3 separate regions of the Homo sapiens genome follow, and regions 1 and 3 are each linked to region 2. The links are contacts of gene promoters, found by promoter capture Hi-C in blood cells and fetal thymus (Javierre and others, 2016). All regions are on one chromosome and are shown on one strand. The core of a region is centred on a gene start or on the middle of the fragment in contact, and the rest is flanking DNA. Distances in the headings are between cores, read along the strand shown. Region 1 overlaps NCAPD2 (non-SMC condensin I complex subunit D2). Region 2 holds the start of NOP2 (NOP2 nucleolar protein). Region 3 overlaps CHD4 (chromodomain helicase DNA binding protein 4).

What was found. The method cuts DNA at HindIII sites, captures the fragments that hold promoters and counts their contacts. A CHiCAGO score of 5 or more calls a contact.
Region 1: a contact is called between a fragment that was not itself captured here and the fragment with the promoter of NOP2 in region 2, in 7 of 17 cell types (erythroblasts, activated CD4 T cells, non-activated CD4 T cells and 4 more). The highest score is 9.9, in erythroblasts.
Region 3: a contact is called between a fragment that was not itself captured here and the fragment with the promoter of NOP2 in region 2, in 16 of 17 cell types (activated CD4 T cells, erythroblasts, megakaryocytes and 13 more). The highest score is 26.5, in activated CD4 T cells.

Annotation. Positions count from the first base shown.
Region 1 is chr12:6,518,762-6,523,170 of GRCh38, reverse strand. It overlaps NCAPD2 (non-SMC condensin I complex subunit D2), which reads right to left. Exons shown (of 32, transcript NM_014865.4): 14 at 2,061-2,185; 15 at 1,134-1,373; 16 at 169-343. Among named protein-coding and RNA genes, the nearest start is that of GAPDH-DT, 13 kb to the left of the region's middle. The HindIII fragment of the contact is 7,418 bases long and covers 1-4,409 here.
Region 2 is chr12:6,566,215-6,570,165 of GRCh38, reverse strand. It overlaps NOP2 (NOP2 nucleolar protein), which reads left to right and starts at 1,875. Exons shown (of 16, transcript NM_001258308.2): 1 at 1,875-1,959; 2 at 2,244-2,350; 3 at 3,344-3,389; 4 at 3,549-3,637; 5 at 3,830-3,951. The coding sequence starts at 2,248. CHD4-AS1 (CHD4 antisense RNA 1) reads right to left here and starts at 1,795. Exons shown (of 3, transcript NR_199067.1): 1 at 636-1,795. It overlaps CHD4 (chromodomain helicase DNA binding protein 4), which reads left to right. Exons shown (of 40, transcript NM_001273.5): 40 at 1-84. RefSeq lists enhancers at 1,531-1,580, 1,404-2,025. The HindIII fragment of the contact is 18,468 bases long and covers 1-3,951 here.
Region 3 is chr12:6,600,022-6,604,389 of GRCh38, reverse strand. CHD4 (chromodomain helicase DNA binding protein 4) reads left to right here. Exons shown (of 40, transcript NM_001273.5): 3 at 1,893-2,014; 4 at 2,215-2,430; 5 at 2,624-2,742; 6 at 2,860-3,101; 7 at 3,337-3,464; 8 at 3,721-3,856; 9 at 3,995-4,173. Among named protein-coding and RNA genes, the nearest start is that of CHD4, 5.2 kb to the left of the region's middle. The HindIII fragment of the contact is 915 bases long and covers 2,352-3,266 here.

The DNA.
Region 1 (4,409 bases), core at 1,434-3,933, 48 kb after region 2:
AAACTGCTCTCCCTGGAAACCGAGCCCCACCCTAAGCCCCACTATGATGGACTGCCTATGGATCTGGAACTCCCCTGGAGAAATGCACCTCTTCCTTTAGGAGACAAGGGAAGTCCTGTGAGAAGCTGACCTTGGAAAAGTCAGCAAAGGCAAAAGCACCCCATATACCTGGCAGAGTCCCCTTTGGGGTTGAGGTAGAGTTGGCGGTAGGCATTAAGCACGGCTTCCCGGACACCAGGCTCCTTAGACCAGATGAGAGGCAGCATACGGCGCACCCCAAACAGGGCCTGGGGTACCCCAAATTGGAAGACCATCACAAAGAATTCAATCACCTCCTGCACCACTGAGAGAACATGTACAAATGTCACCTATCTACTTCACAAAACTCCCCCAATACCTAACGACAGAACCTTTCTGAATGTAGCAAGATGCAAATGGAGGCCTTCCGCATTTTCCCTGAGAATGTCGACTCCTCCTATGATGCCTTATCATGAAATACTATATGCATTAAAATGTATAAGCTGTAAGTGGCTAGAGGAAGCAAACAGAAAAAAAGAACCCCTGCCTTTTTTTTTTCTTTTCTTAAGACACAGGTTCTTATTCTGTTGCTCCGGCTAGAGTGCAGTGGCATGACCACAGCTCACTGTAGCCTCAAACTCCCGGGCTCAAGCAATCCTCCTGCCCAGCCTTCCGAGTAGCTGGAACTACAGGTGCGTGCCATCACGCCCAGTTAGTTTTTGTTTCTTTGTAGAGATGGGGTCTTGCTATGTTGCCCAGGCTGCTCTCGAACTCCTGGCCTCAACCTGTCTTCCTGCTTTGGCCTCCCAGTTTTGTAGGGATTACAGGCATGAGCCATCGCGCCCAGCCGAGAACCCCTGCCTTTTAAAGGAGCAGATAGATATATCAATAAAATATGGAAAAGAACTCCAAGATCCATGGCCGGGTGCAGTGGCTCACACCTGTAATACCAGCACTTTGGGAGGCTGACGCAGAAGAATTGCCTGAGCCCAGGAGTTGGAGACCAGCCTGAGCAACAAAGGAAGGCCCCATCTCTATTGTTAATAAAAATTTAAAAAATTAAAAAATCCAAAAGAACCCCAAGGCTGTCCTTATAGAAAGGGACTCTGGCATACCTGTAGTTGTGTTTTCATACATCATCTTGCTGATGATGCCAATGGCCTCTGTAATCTTCCGGGAGAAGCTGTAGGCATCCTGCAGATACTGTACCAGCATCTCCTGCTTCACTAGTTCATCATTTCCCCTGGATTCCTCAGGATCCGACATATTGGGTTTATTTTTACAGACAGTCTGTCCTGTGACCATGTTTCCTGTAGACTCCCGGGGATTCTTTTCTTGTGTGGAAGCTGCTGGGCCTAAGGAGTTAGAGAAGTACAGGATGGTTTCGTTCAAGGGGATACAGGGGAATCCAACAGCTGTCAACATTCCTGGATATTTACTTATTTATTTTCCTTCTTCTTTTCTTTTGAGATGGGGTCTCACTCTGTTGCCTAGGCTGTGCAGTGGCAATGATCACCGCTCACTGCAGCCTCAACTTCCCCGGGCTAAGGTGATTCTCTCACTTCAGCTCCTGAGCAGTTGGGACTACAGGTGCGTGCCACCGCACCTGGCTAATTTTTTTTTGGTATCCCTTGTAGAGATGGGGGTTTCGTCATGTTGCTCAGGCTGATTTTCAACTCCTGGGCTCAAGCAATCCTCCTGCCTTGGCCTCCCAAAGTGTTAGGATTACAGGCATAAGCCACGACATCTGGCCCTGGATATCTCTTTTCACAATGTGAAGATATGAAATTAAAACTTACTCTAAAATATCTAAATTTCTCAAAAACCATACCTAAAGACCGCTATGGTCTGGACAGTCACCCTGTGACTATCAATCTTAGGCCCGTGGGCTGCTTCCATTCCAGAGCAAAAGTAATGCCAATTCATCTCTGGGCTCTTCAGCACCAGGTTCTGTTAACCAGGCCAATGATGGCATAAAGTTAATGCTCAGTAAATACCAGTTGACATGTGTTATTTATTGACTGAAGAAGGAAAATGATTACCTTTGAAGATAAGTCCTAAGATATTCAAGAGCCTGGTCTCCTCTGACTCCTCTGGGTCTATATGACTGAAGGGTTCGGACTCCTGGAAGTGGCCTGTGGCTTCTCGAGTGAGAATGATGGCCTTTCTGAAAGAACACCAGCCTGTCAGTACCCAGAAGAATGTCACTGCAGCCGTTTGTAAGGGAGCTTACCTCATGATTCTATCAAGTCCCTGGACCTACTGCCCAGAGAAAAGGAGCACTTAACATGCTTAAAAAGTTGTTACAGCACCTACTAAGGGGTAGGGCTCAAAACACTTTGCCTATTTTTTTCCCCTGACTGCTCATCTGCAAACACTTTTCCTATTTCTGAACCTACAAGGCATTACTACAGTCTTCAAAAAAACTCCAATAAGGCTTTTTAAAGTTTTAAAATCATAAACCTACTCCAAACACCTGTTTAAAAACTTTCCTAAGTTTAGAAACAATAAACTTTCAATAATTAGTTAATTCAGGCACATCCAGACAATAAGATTCTATGTAGTCATAAAAAATAATGGGGACACGTGAGCCCAGGAATTTGAGATCAGTCTGGGCAACACAGGGAGACCCAACTATACAAAAAGTAAAAAAAGTTAGCCGGGTGTGATGGTGTGTGCCTGTGGGTGTGATGGTGTATGCCTGTGGGTGTGATGGTGTGTGCCTGTGGGTGTGATGGTGTGTGCCTGTGGGTGTAATGGTGTGTGCCTGTGGTCTCAGCTACTCGAGGGAGCTGAGGTGGGAGGATCACTTGAGCCTGGGAGATCAAAGCTGCAGTGAGTTGTGATCATACCACTGTACTCCAGCATGGGCAAAAGAGTGAGACACTCTCTCTCTCAAAAAAAGAGGAGAGTGGGAAACTATTTATGTATAAATATATATGTGTATATATATATATATATTTTTTTTTTTAGAGACAGAGTCTTGTTCTGTCACCCAGGCTGAAGTGTAGTGGCATGATCTTGGCTCACTATAACCTCTGCTTCCTAGGTTTGAGTGATTCTCATGCCTCAGCTCCCCAAATAGCTAGGATTACAGGTACGTGCCACCATACCTGGCCAATTTTTGTAATTTTAGCAGAGATGGGTTTCGCCATTTCGCCACGTTGGCCAGGCTGGCCTCAAACTCCTGGCCTCAAGAGATCCACCAGCTTTGGGCTCCCAAGGTGCTGGGATTACAGGTGTGAGCCACTGCACCTGGCCATCTATAAATTTTTTTTTTTTTTTGAGATGGACTCTTCCTCTGTCACCCAGGGTAGAGTGTAGCGGAGCAATCTCAGCTCACTGCAACCTCTGCTTCCTGGGTTCAAGCAATTCTCCTGCCTCAGCCTCCCAAGTAGCTGGGATTACAGGCATGAGCCATTGCACCCAGCCATAAATATTTTTAAAAACCACTGAGACACATAGTTAAGTGAAAAAAACAAGATGGTAGATCAGTGGGCAGAGAATTCTATCAGTCATATAAAAGGGGGAAAAAAAGAATACATGTTTGACTGCTTGTCTACATGTTATCTTCTTGCCACGTTGCCCAGGCTGGCAAAGGCCAGGCCTGGTGGTGTGTACCTGTAATCCCAGCTACAAATTATAAATAAATTAACCAGGCTACTCAGGAGGCTAATGTGGGAGATCGCTTGAGCCCAGCAGGGTTGAGGCTACAGTGAGAGGCTGCAGTGAGCTGTGATTGCGCTACTGTACTCCAGCCTGGGCAACAGTGAGATTCTGTCTCAAAAACAAACAATCCTTTTCTAATTGACAGGAGAAAATACTAGAATGCTTGGTGGAACATGCACTTATAAAACTATAGTCTCTATTTTTGCTTTAGCAAAATAAAAAGAGAGACACTAAAGTAACATAAGGGAGTCATAGGGCAAACAAGCCACTCTCTAGCCTTCTAAAAACAGCCCAAGCCGGGCACGGTGGCTCAAGCCTGTAATCCCAGCACTTTGGGAGGCCGAGGCAGGCGGATCACGAGGTCAGGAGATTGAGACCATCCTGGCTAACACGGTGAAACCCCGTCTCTACTAAAAATATAAAAAAAAAAATTAGCCGGGCGTGGTGGCGGGCGCCTGTAGTCCCAGCTACTCGGGAGGCTGAGGCAGGAGAATGGCGTGAACCCAGGAGGTGGAGGTTGCAGTGAGCCAAGATCGCACCACTGCACTCCAGCCTGGGCAACAGAGCAAGACTCCGTCTCCAAAAAAAAAATTCAGCCCAATTAGGTAAGAAGTAAATAAATAACAAATAACTTGTGGCTGAGGTTTAAGAATACTTGTTGGCAGCCGAGTGCGGTGGCTCACGCCTGTAATCATGGCACTTTGGGAGGCTGAGATGGGTGG
Region 2 (3,951 bases), core at 626-3,125:
AAAAAAAAGGAAAAAACCAAAAGCATAAAAAACCACAGCAAATTTCTTGATGAAAATTGAAAATAAAAGTTTCCTTGTATTTTAGTGCTCTGGTTCAGTGTGGGTGTAGGTGCAGGTGGATGAGTGTGTGCGGCAGGAGCCTGGCACCTGTATAGTTGAAAATTAAGGGCTACGTGGTGTCCTGATACCCCACTGAGTAACTGGGTTCTGTGTGTGGGTGCAGTATGTGCCTTGCCAACGTTGACTTCCACCTGTGGAAAATGAGAGGCTGCAAAACTGCGGGCACCGCCGCTTAATGGCTCTGTGACCTTGAGCAAGTTGTTTAACTTTGGTGGGATGCAGATATCTCATGTATACCTCATACGGTTGTCAAGTTAAACCAGTGAAGTACATGGAACGGTTTTAACACCTAACCACTACCTTAATGTTAGTTTCTAGGAAGGCTGAGGGGGGTTTTCTTGCTAAGTTGTGCAAAATTGGGATGCAATTTGTGGAAGAACACAGCCTCAATCCCACACCCCCGGAGGCCCGACCTAACGTCCTCCAACCTTGAAACCCTTGTAGTTCACCCCTTCTCATGTCCCAGACCAGGTCAGCCTTGCAACCCGTTGTTTCCCAACTAATTGTAGACCCACCTGAAAGCGAGTTCCGGCGAAGAGGCCCCCTGCGAATGAGGTGCAGTGCAGCACCTTAATTGAGGGGCTGAGCAGGGGTCAGCATCAAGGAAGGTGCTGGGAGGGCGGGGCACGGTGGCTCACAGCCTGTAATCTCAGCACAAAGGTGGGGGCAGGAGGATCGCTTAAGCCCAGGAGTTCTAGACCAGCCCTGGCAATATAGTGAGACGCCACCCCCTACAACCCGTCTCTATAAAAAGATTTTTAAAAAAGGGGCAAAGAGGAGGAGGTAAGTGGCATGGAATTCCACGGTTTTTTTTGTTTGTTTGTTTTGAGATGGAGTCTCGCTTTGTTGCCAGGCTGGAGTACAGTGGCGCGATCTCAGCTCACTGCAACCTCCCCCTCCCGGGTTCAAGCGATTCTCCTGCCTCAGCCTCCCGAGTAGCTGGGACTACACGCGTGCGCCAGCCACCATGCCCAACTAATTTTTGTATTTTTAATAGAGACAAGGTTGGCCAAGATGGTCTCGGATTTCTTGACCTCGTGATCCGCCCGCCTCGACCTCCCAAAGTGCTGGGATTACAGGCGTGAGCCACCGAGCCCGGCTGGTTTTTTTGTTTTTTTTTTTTGAGGTGGAGTTTCGCTCTTGGTGAGGCTTAAGTGGCACGATCTCGGCTTACTGCAACCTCCGCCTCCCGGGCTCAAGCAATTCTGCCTCAGCCTCTCGAGTAGCTGGGATTATAGGCGCCCGCCACCACGCCCGGCTAATTTTGTATTTTTAGTAGAAGCAGGGTTTCACCATATTGGCCAGGCTGGTCTCGAACTCCTGACCTCAAGTGATCCACCCACCTCAGCCTCCCAAAGTGCTGGGATTACAGGCGTGAGCCACTGCGCCCAGCCTGGAATTCCGTGATCTTGACGCTGGACTAGGGCAGTGGATGCGAGGGAGAGGGCTCCAATGTCGGGCCCTGGTTCGAGGAGAAGGTGCGGCTTTCACCCAACAGAAACCGGCCGTGAGGCTAAAAGCCAACTCCATGAGGGAAGGTCGGTCAAGCTCAATGGTTTCGTCACATTGCTCCCTCCACCCGCCGCGGGTGTAAGCTGCGCGTCTCCTTCGAATTGCCCCCTACTCGCCGCCGCCGGCTCCGCTGGCGTTCCCAGGGCGAGCGTAAGTTCCGGGTGCGGCGGCCGACTAGGCGCAACAGGAAGAGGCGGGGCCGCGAGGCTAGCGCTACCCGTGCGCCTGCGTGGAACGATTCTGTGGCGAGTGCCGGCCGAAAGCTAGGTCCGGATTGCACGTGGAGGGCCGCCCGAAGGGCACTCTCGGACATTAACCCGCATTCTGGTGGGTCTAGAGGAAATTGGGGGACGAAGAGTGGCAGCACTGACCTGGTCTGGGACGTGGGGAGAAGGGTGCGCTACCTGGGTTTCAGGTGGGAGGGCGTTCGGTCGGGCCTCCAGGGGGATAGCGGGGGTGCTTGAGTCGCGGGTGCTGAGTCGGGAGTGCTGAGTGAGTTGCGGGTGCTGAGTTGAGGCTGTGCCCTTTCCCACTATAATACGCCAAGCGTGCGTTCTGCCGTTCCCTCCGACACGCGCGACGCCACCTTCTCCCATTTCTGCCTGCCACAGTACCATGGGGCGCAAGTTGGACCCTACGAAGGAGAAGCGGGGGCCAGGCCGAAAGGCCCGGAAGCAGAAGGGTGCCGAGACAGAACTCGTCAGATTCTTGCCTGCAGGTAAGGATTAGTTGTGGCCTCCTGATCCCTCAGCTTTTGCAGTATTCTGTATTATAACCTCTTCTCTTTTTTAGTTTCTGTTCATTTTATATTTAAGTGGAATCTTCTCTGTATGAGTTACTAGGAGGTATGAATGAAACAGCCGTTTAGATTGTAGGGAACTGTTTAGGTCGTAGAGATGTGAAGACACGGACACAACTATTATTCATGCAAGGGAAAAGTGTGATTTAAAACAATTGTGAGTTCAGAGGAAGGGGGAGCCCATGCAGAACTGTAAAAGTTTTTGTTAAGCTGGGTTTTGAAAAATGGGTAACATTGTAGCAAGAGGAAGTAGTGAAGGGGAGGGGTCAGTCACTGATTTGCCTTTTGGAAGGGGTGGAAATGGAAAAGCACGGATCTGGCTGCTTCATGCCGAGTAGTAGTATACTGTGTGGAAGACTGGTGGGAGGTAACACTGGACCGGGAGTTTGTGTTGGGCATTGGATAAAGGATGCAGTTTATTGAGATAGTAGGAAGTCCTGGGCACTGTATTAAACTTGTTGGTCATGTTATATCGCTTAATCATCTTAGAGTCCTGTGAGAGAGGCACTATTAAGGAAACACTTTGGGAGGCCGAGGCAGGTGGATCACCTGAGGTCCAGTGTTCGAGACCAGCCTGGCCAACATGGTGAAACCCTGTCTTTACTAAAAATACAACAATTAGCTGGGTGTGGTGATGGGAGGCTGAGGCAATAGAATCGCTTGAATCTGGGAGAAGGAGGTTGCAGTGAGTTGAGATCACGCCATTGCACTCCAGCCTGGAAGACAAGAGTGAAACTCCATTTCAAAAAAAAAAAAGAAACTTGTATACAGTTATTAAATAATAACAGGGCTGAGATTTAAATGGACTCCTTTTAATTAGTGTACTAATTCTCTTACCATGTTTATTTCCGTTCCCATTTATTTTTAATGTCCCCTGTAACTTGTTCTGCCTCGTTTTTCTTTTTTAAACAGTAAGTGACGAAAATTCCAAGAGGCTGTCTAGTCGTGCTCGAAAGAGGTAAGTGTGGGTGTCAAAACTTAAGTAGGTTAAATTGGTACTGCTCATCTTTGACCACAGAGTTAATTCTAGACTCTCACATTTCCCTATGGTGGAAATGGCAGAGCCTGGAAGTATCTTCCCATTTCTTCACTCCTTGAATCTCTTGTGTCTTTTCAGGGCAGCCAAGAGGAGATTGGGCTCTGTTGAAGCCCCTAAGACAAATAAGTCTCCTGAGGCCAAACCATTGCCTGGAAAGCTACCAAAAGGTCCGTGAAACTAAGAGCTGGATGCTACATGAGGAGTCCCTTTGGGTCCTGGGTAGGGAAGAACTCGCTAAACATTTCCGGAGTGAAAGGAACAGCCAAAGGACATTCTGAGGGGTAGAAAGTACAGGCTCCCAGGGTGTGGGGCCAGGGAATGTGTGGCTGCCATTAGTCCAGGACTCTTCAAACCCTTAGGGATCTCTGCAGGAGCTGTCCAGACAGCTGGTAAGAAGGGACCCCAGTCCCTATTTAATGCTCCTCGAGGCAAGAAGCGCCCAGCACCTGGCAGTGATGAGGAAGAGGAGGAGGAAGACTCT
Region 3 (4,368 bases), core at 1,560-4,059, 33 kb before region 2:
TATCTGTCTAGCTCAGGAAGTGGGGAGCCAGAGACATTTTAGGGCTAATTTTGGGGGTTAAGAGCTAAGAACATGTCAGGGATTGAAGGAGGGATATTATTTTCTTTTTTATTTTTGAGATGGGGTCTCACTCTGTCGCCAAGGTTGGAGTGCAGTGTGCGATCTTGGCTCACTGCAACCTCCGCCTCCCGGGCTCAAGCGATTCTCCTGCCTCAGCCTCCTGAGTAGCTGGGATTACAGGCACCCACCACCATGCCTGGCTAATTTTTGTTTTTTTAGTAGAGACAGGGTTTCACCATGTTGGCCAAGCTGGTTTCGAACTGACCTCAAATGATCTGCCCGCCTCAGCCTCCCAGAGTGCTGCGATTACAGGCATGAGCCATTGCACCCGATTGGGATATTCTCTTCTACCACTGTCTAGGTCCTGCTCTGTTTTTTTGTGCAGACATTCCCATATGTTGGATAGGAATCTGGGTGGGAGTGGTGAGGAAGCTGAGCTTCAGAGACTTCTTGTGGGCCTCCATTCCTCAAACTAAATCTTTTGGGTATCAGAAATTTGGGGAGAAGGTTGTATGCGCTGACCACAAGTCCACTGAGCCTTTGTTAAATCTCAGCTCTGATGATTGAAAAAATAATTATGATTGAGGGAGTGATCGAGTTCTTCTCTTAGTATTACCTTCATGTTTGTCTCGCTTTCCTTGGGTTTCCTTGCTTAGGATGTTAGGGTGGGCTCTTGTGAACTGTTGTCATCCCAGAGTAGGTGGCATTTGGACCTGGGGCCAGGTAATTTGGGGAGGCTTCTATGAGGGCAGTCTCCCCCCCCGCCACCCCACCTCTCTCAAACCCACCCCCTCCCCTGCCACTTCCTGTCTGTCCTATGTTGGCAGCTGGGTGCCCTGGGCTGGCTTCTGCGGTCAGGAGCCATTTTCCCTCTCCTCAGTGGGTGAGGCACTCCCTTCTTCTCTCCACTCCTTTCTCTACCCACCCCCCTTTGGGCGGGGGTGGCTTGGGAAGAGGGAGAGAGGAGGGAGGAGGGAGTCGGAGCCAGTGTGAATGTCTGTTACAAAGGAAGCTGCCTCCTGGTCTTCTCTGTGTCCCTTCCCACCTATCCTTGCCCAGGAGCTTTCAGTCTTACCCAGGCTTTGTGTGTGCCTCCAGCCAGGGGAGGAGGTGGAGCCAGATGGGAGGAGGCTTGCTGGGGGGCGGGTGTAGGGGAGATGGTGACAGCTGGGCTGATTCGGGCCCCTAGGGAGAAGAGGCTGCTGACCCAGGAGAAGCTGAGGAGGAACATTAGGGTTGGAGATGGGGAAAGGAAATTGTATTTTAGAAGTGGGCATGAGATTGAGCTGGCACCTGAACCTAGGACTTGGAGGTTCTGGTTAATTTGAGCAGTGATGACTTCAAAGTGGTTAGAGAAGGGTGTGGTTTCCGAGACCCCTGAACTGATCCTGTTCTGGGAAGGTATATTCTATAGTTTTTGCCTTCTGAGTAGGATCTTTCATTCTCATTCCCTGGTTTATAGAATAACTTGGTGGCCAGTTACAGGAGGCCTAAATCTAGTTCTCTTACTTGGTGAACTCTGAGCAGCTCAGTTCAGCTGTACTGGTGAACATCTAGAGGACTGGTAGGAACGGGAGAGAGGAGGCAGGGGTCTGGACAGCTGCCCGAGGTGGGCCTGGTCTGGCCTGGCAGGCCTATTTCGGGTATATACAGCTCTCTCTTTGTCTGTTTTTGTCCTGGGTATCAGCTTCCTCCTGTACAGAGTATAGCAGTTCTCTTCAGAGGAATCTGGGACAAGAGGTGGGGAATAAAGTCTAAAGCCTCTGGATTAGGGCCTAACCTTTTGCTATTGATCTTTTCCCTGCCTACCACTCTTTGCCAAATATATGTAGAAAATGAAGAGGACCCAGAAGAGGATTTGTCAGAAACAGAGACTCCAAAGCTCAAGAAGAAGAAAAAGCCTAAGAAACCTCGGGACCCTAAAATCCCTAAGAGCAAGCGCCAAAAAAAGGAGGTGAGTGGGTGACTGAATGTTACGGGGAATCAGAGGAAGAAGGGAGGAGCTCTGAGAAGGGTTGAAGGGCTGAGGGCATTTGTTTCTTTCTCAGAAGTGGTGGGCCATGTTCTGGGGATGAGCCTCAGGGCTGTCCTGAGGTCAGCATGTGTGTAGCATGTGTGTGTCTGTCTCCCTCTTCCCCCCTTGCCCTGCTCCAGCGTATGCTCTTATGCCGGCAGCTGGGGGACAGCTCTGGGGAGGGGCCAGAGTTTGTGGAGGAGGAGGAAGAGGTGGCTCTGCGCTCAGACAGTGAGGGCAGCGACTATACTCCTGGCAAGAAGAAGAAGAAGAAGCTTGGACCTAAGAAAGAGAAGAAGAGCAAATCCAAGCGGAAGGAGGAGGAGGAGGAGGAGGATGATGATGATGATTCAAAGGTGCCTGGACCTCCATCCTCTTCTTTGTACTGTTAAACTTTTGTCTTTTTGTTTCCTAGACACCTTACTGCCCTTTAGAACACTTTCTCTTCTTTTCCTCTTAACTCTGTTACTCTGATTTTTCCACACAAATTTGCTTAGCAAGTGTGGGCACTAGGTGGCAGGTACTTACTTGACTTTGCTCTTTCTGCAGGAGCCTAAATCATCTGCTCAGCTCCTGGAAGACTGGGGCATGGAAGACATTGACCACGTGTTCTCAGAGGAGGATTATCGAACCCTCACCAACTACAAGGCCTTCAGCCAGTTTGTCAGGTAAAACAGAAGGGGTTTGGGGAAGGGGGAGGAGAATCTTTCTGTTCTCTCTTCTTACTTCTCTTTCTTTTTTTATTCTTAAACCTTTCCCTCTGCTCTTGTGCATTTCTCCACCAGACCCCTCATTGCTGCCAAAAATCCCAAGATTGCTGTCTCCAAGATGATGATGGTTTTGGGTGCAAAATGGCGGGAGTTCAGTACCAATAACCCCTTCAAAGGCAGTTCTGGGGCATCAGTGGCAGCTGCGGCAGCAGCAGCGGTAGCTGTGGTGGAGAGCATGGTGACAGCCACTGAGGTTGCACCACCACCTCCCCCTGTGGAGGTGCCTATCCGCAAGGCCAAGACCAAGGAGGGCAAAGGTGAAATGGGGTTCAAATGGGAGTGGGGGTGTCTAGTGTGGGCTTAAGATGTCAAAGACAGCATGGGAATGCTGGTCTGTCAGCCCTAAGGTAGGAGATAGGAGGGAGGAATGAGTCTTGGATTTTGGAGGGAAATTTGGGAATCTGAATGTGGGGAAGCAAGCTTAGGTGGAGAAGATTTTATTTTCCCCATCTTTGGTCTTGTGGTATATATTTGGATATATCCTGATTTTAGGTCCCAATGCTCGGAGGAAGCCCAAGGGCAGCCCTCGTGTACCTGATGCCAAGAAGCCTAAACCCAAGAAAGTAGCTCCCCTGAAAATCAAGCTGGGAGGTTTTGGTTCCAAGCGTAAGAGATCCTCGGTGAGAGCCCAGCCCATCGCTTTAGGGAGGGTGCCATGTCTAATAGAAAGGATGTGACCTTCTATCAGAACCTGTCCTTCATAGTAGGCACGTAAGAATGTGGGGCGTTTCCCACAGAACAAGATGAGACTAGGCTCCCTGTATAACGGTGCTTGCTGGGATTCTGGTGTCCCCAGTGAGAGAGTACTCCCCTCTCTGCCACTCTGTCCTTCCCCTTGGCTTGAACGTCTAACCTTATTCTTTTTCATCCTGCCAGAGTGAGGATGATGACTTAGATGTGGAATCTGACTTCGATGATGCCAGTATCAATAGCTATTCTGTTTCTGATGGTTCCACCAGCCGTAGTAGCCGCAGCCGCAAGAAACTCCGAACCACTAAAAAGAAAAAGAAAGGTGTGTTTCTCTTCTGTATATTTGTGATGGGATGAGGTGGGAGTGATTGGGGAAGAATCTCCCTAAGGAGATAGGGGTCGGGGGGTGGGGGGAGGTAGTTTTTTTCCAATAACTGGGCTTTCCCTCTTCCTTGCCCAGGCGAGGAGGAGGTGACTGCTGTGGATGGTTATGAGACAGACCACCAGGACTATTGCGAGGTGTGCCAGCAAGGCGGTGAGATCATCCTGTGTGATACCTGTCCCCGTGCTTACCACATGGTCTGCCTGGATCCCGACATGGAGAAGGCTCCCGAGGGCAAGTGGAGCTGCCCACACTGCGTGAGTGTCTGGCCATTGTGGCCCCTTGGAACCCATGAGAAGAAGGGTGGGACAGTAAAGCTCTTCGGGGCCTGGATGGAAATGGAAATGCTGGTGCTGCGGGTTGTGAGCTTTGGGAAGCATTCAAAGGAATGATGGGCACTGGCTTCAGACTGCGGTGGGCGGGTGGGGGTAATAATCTGAATCTGTGGTCCT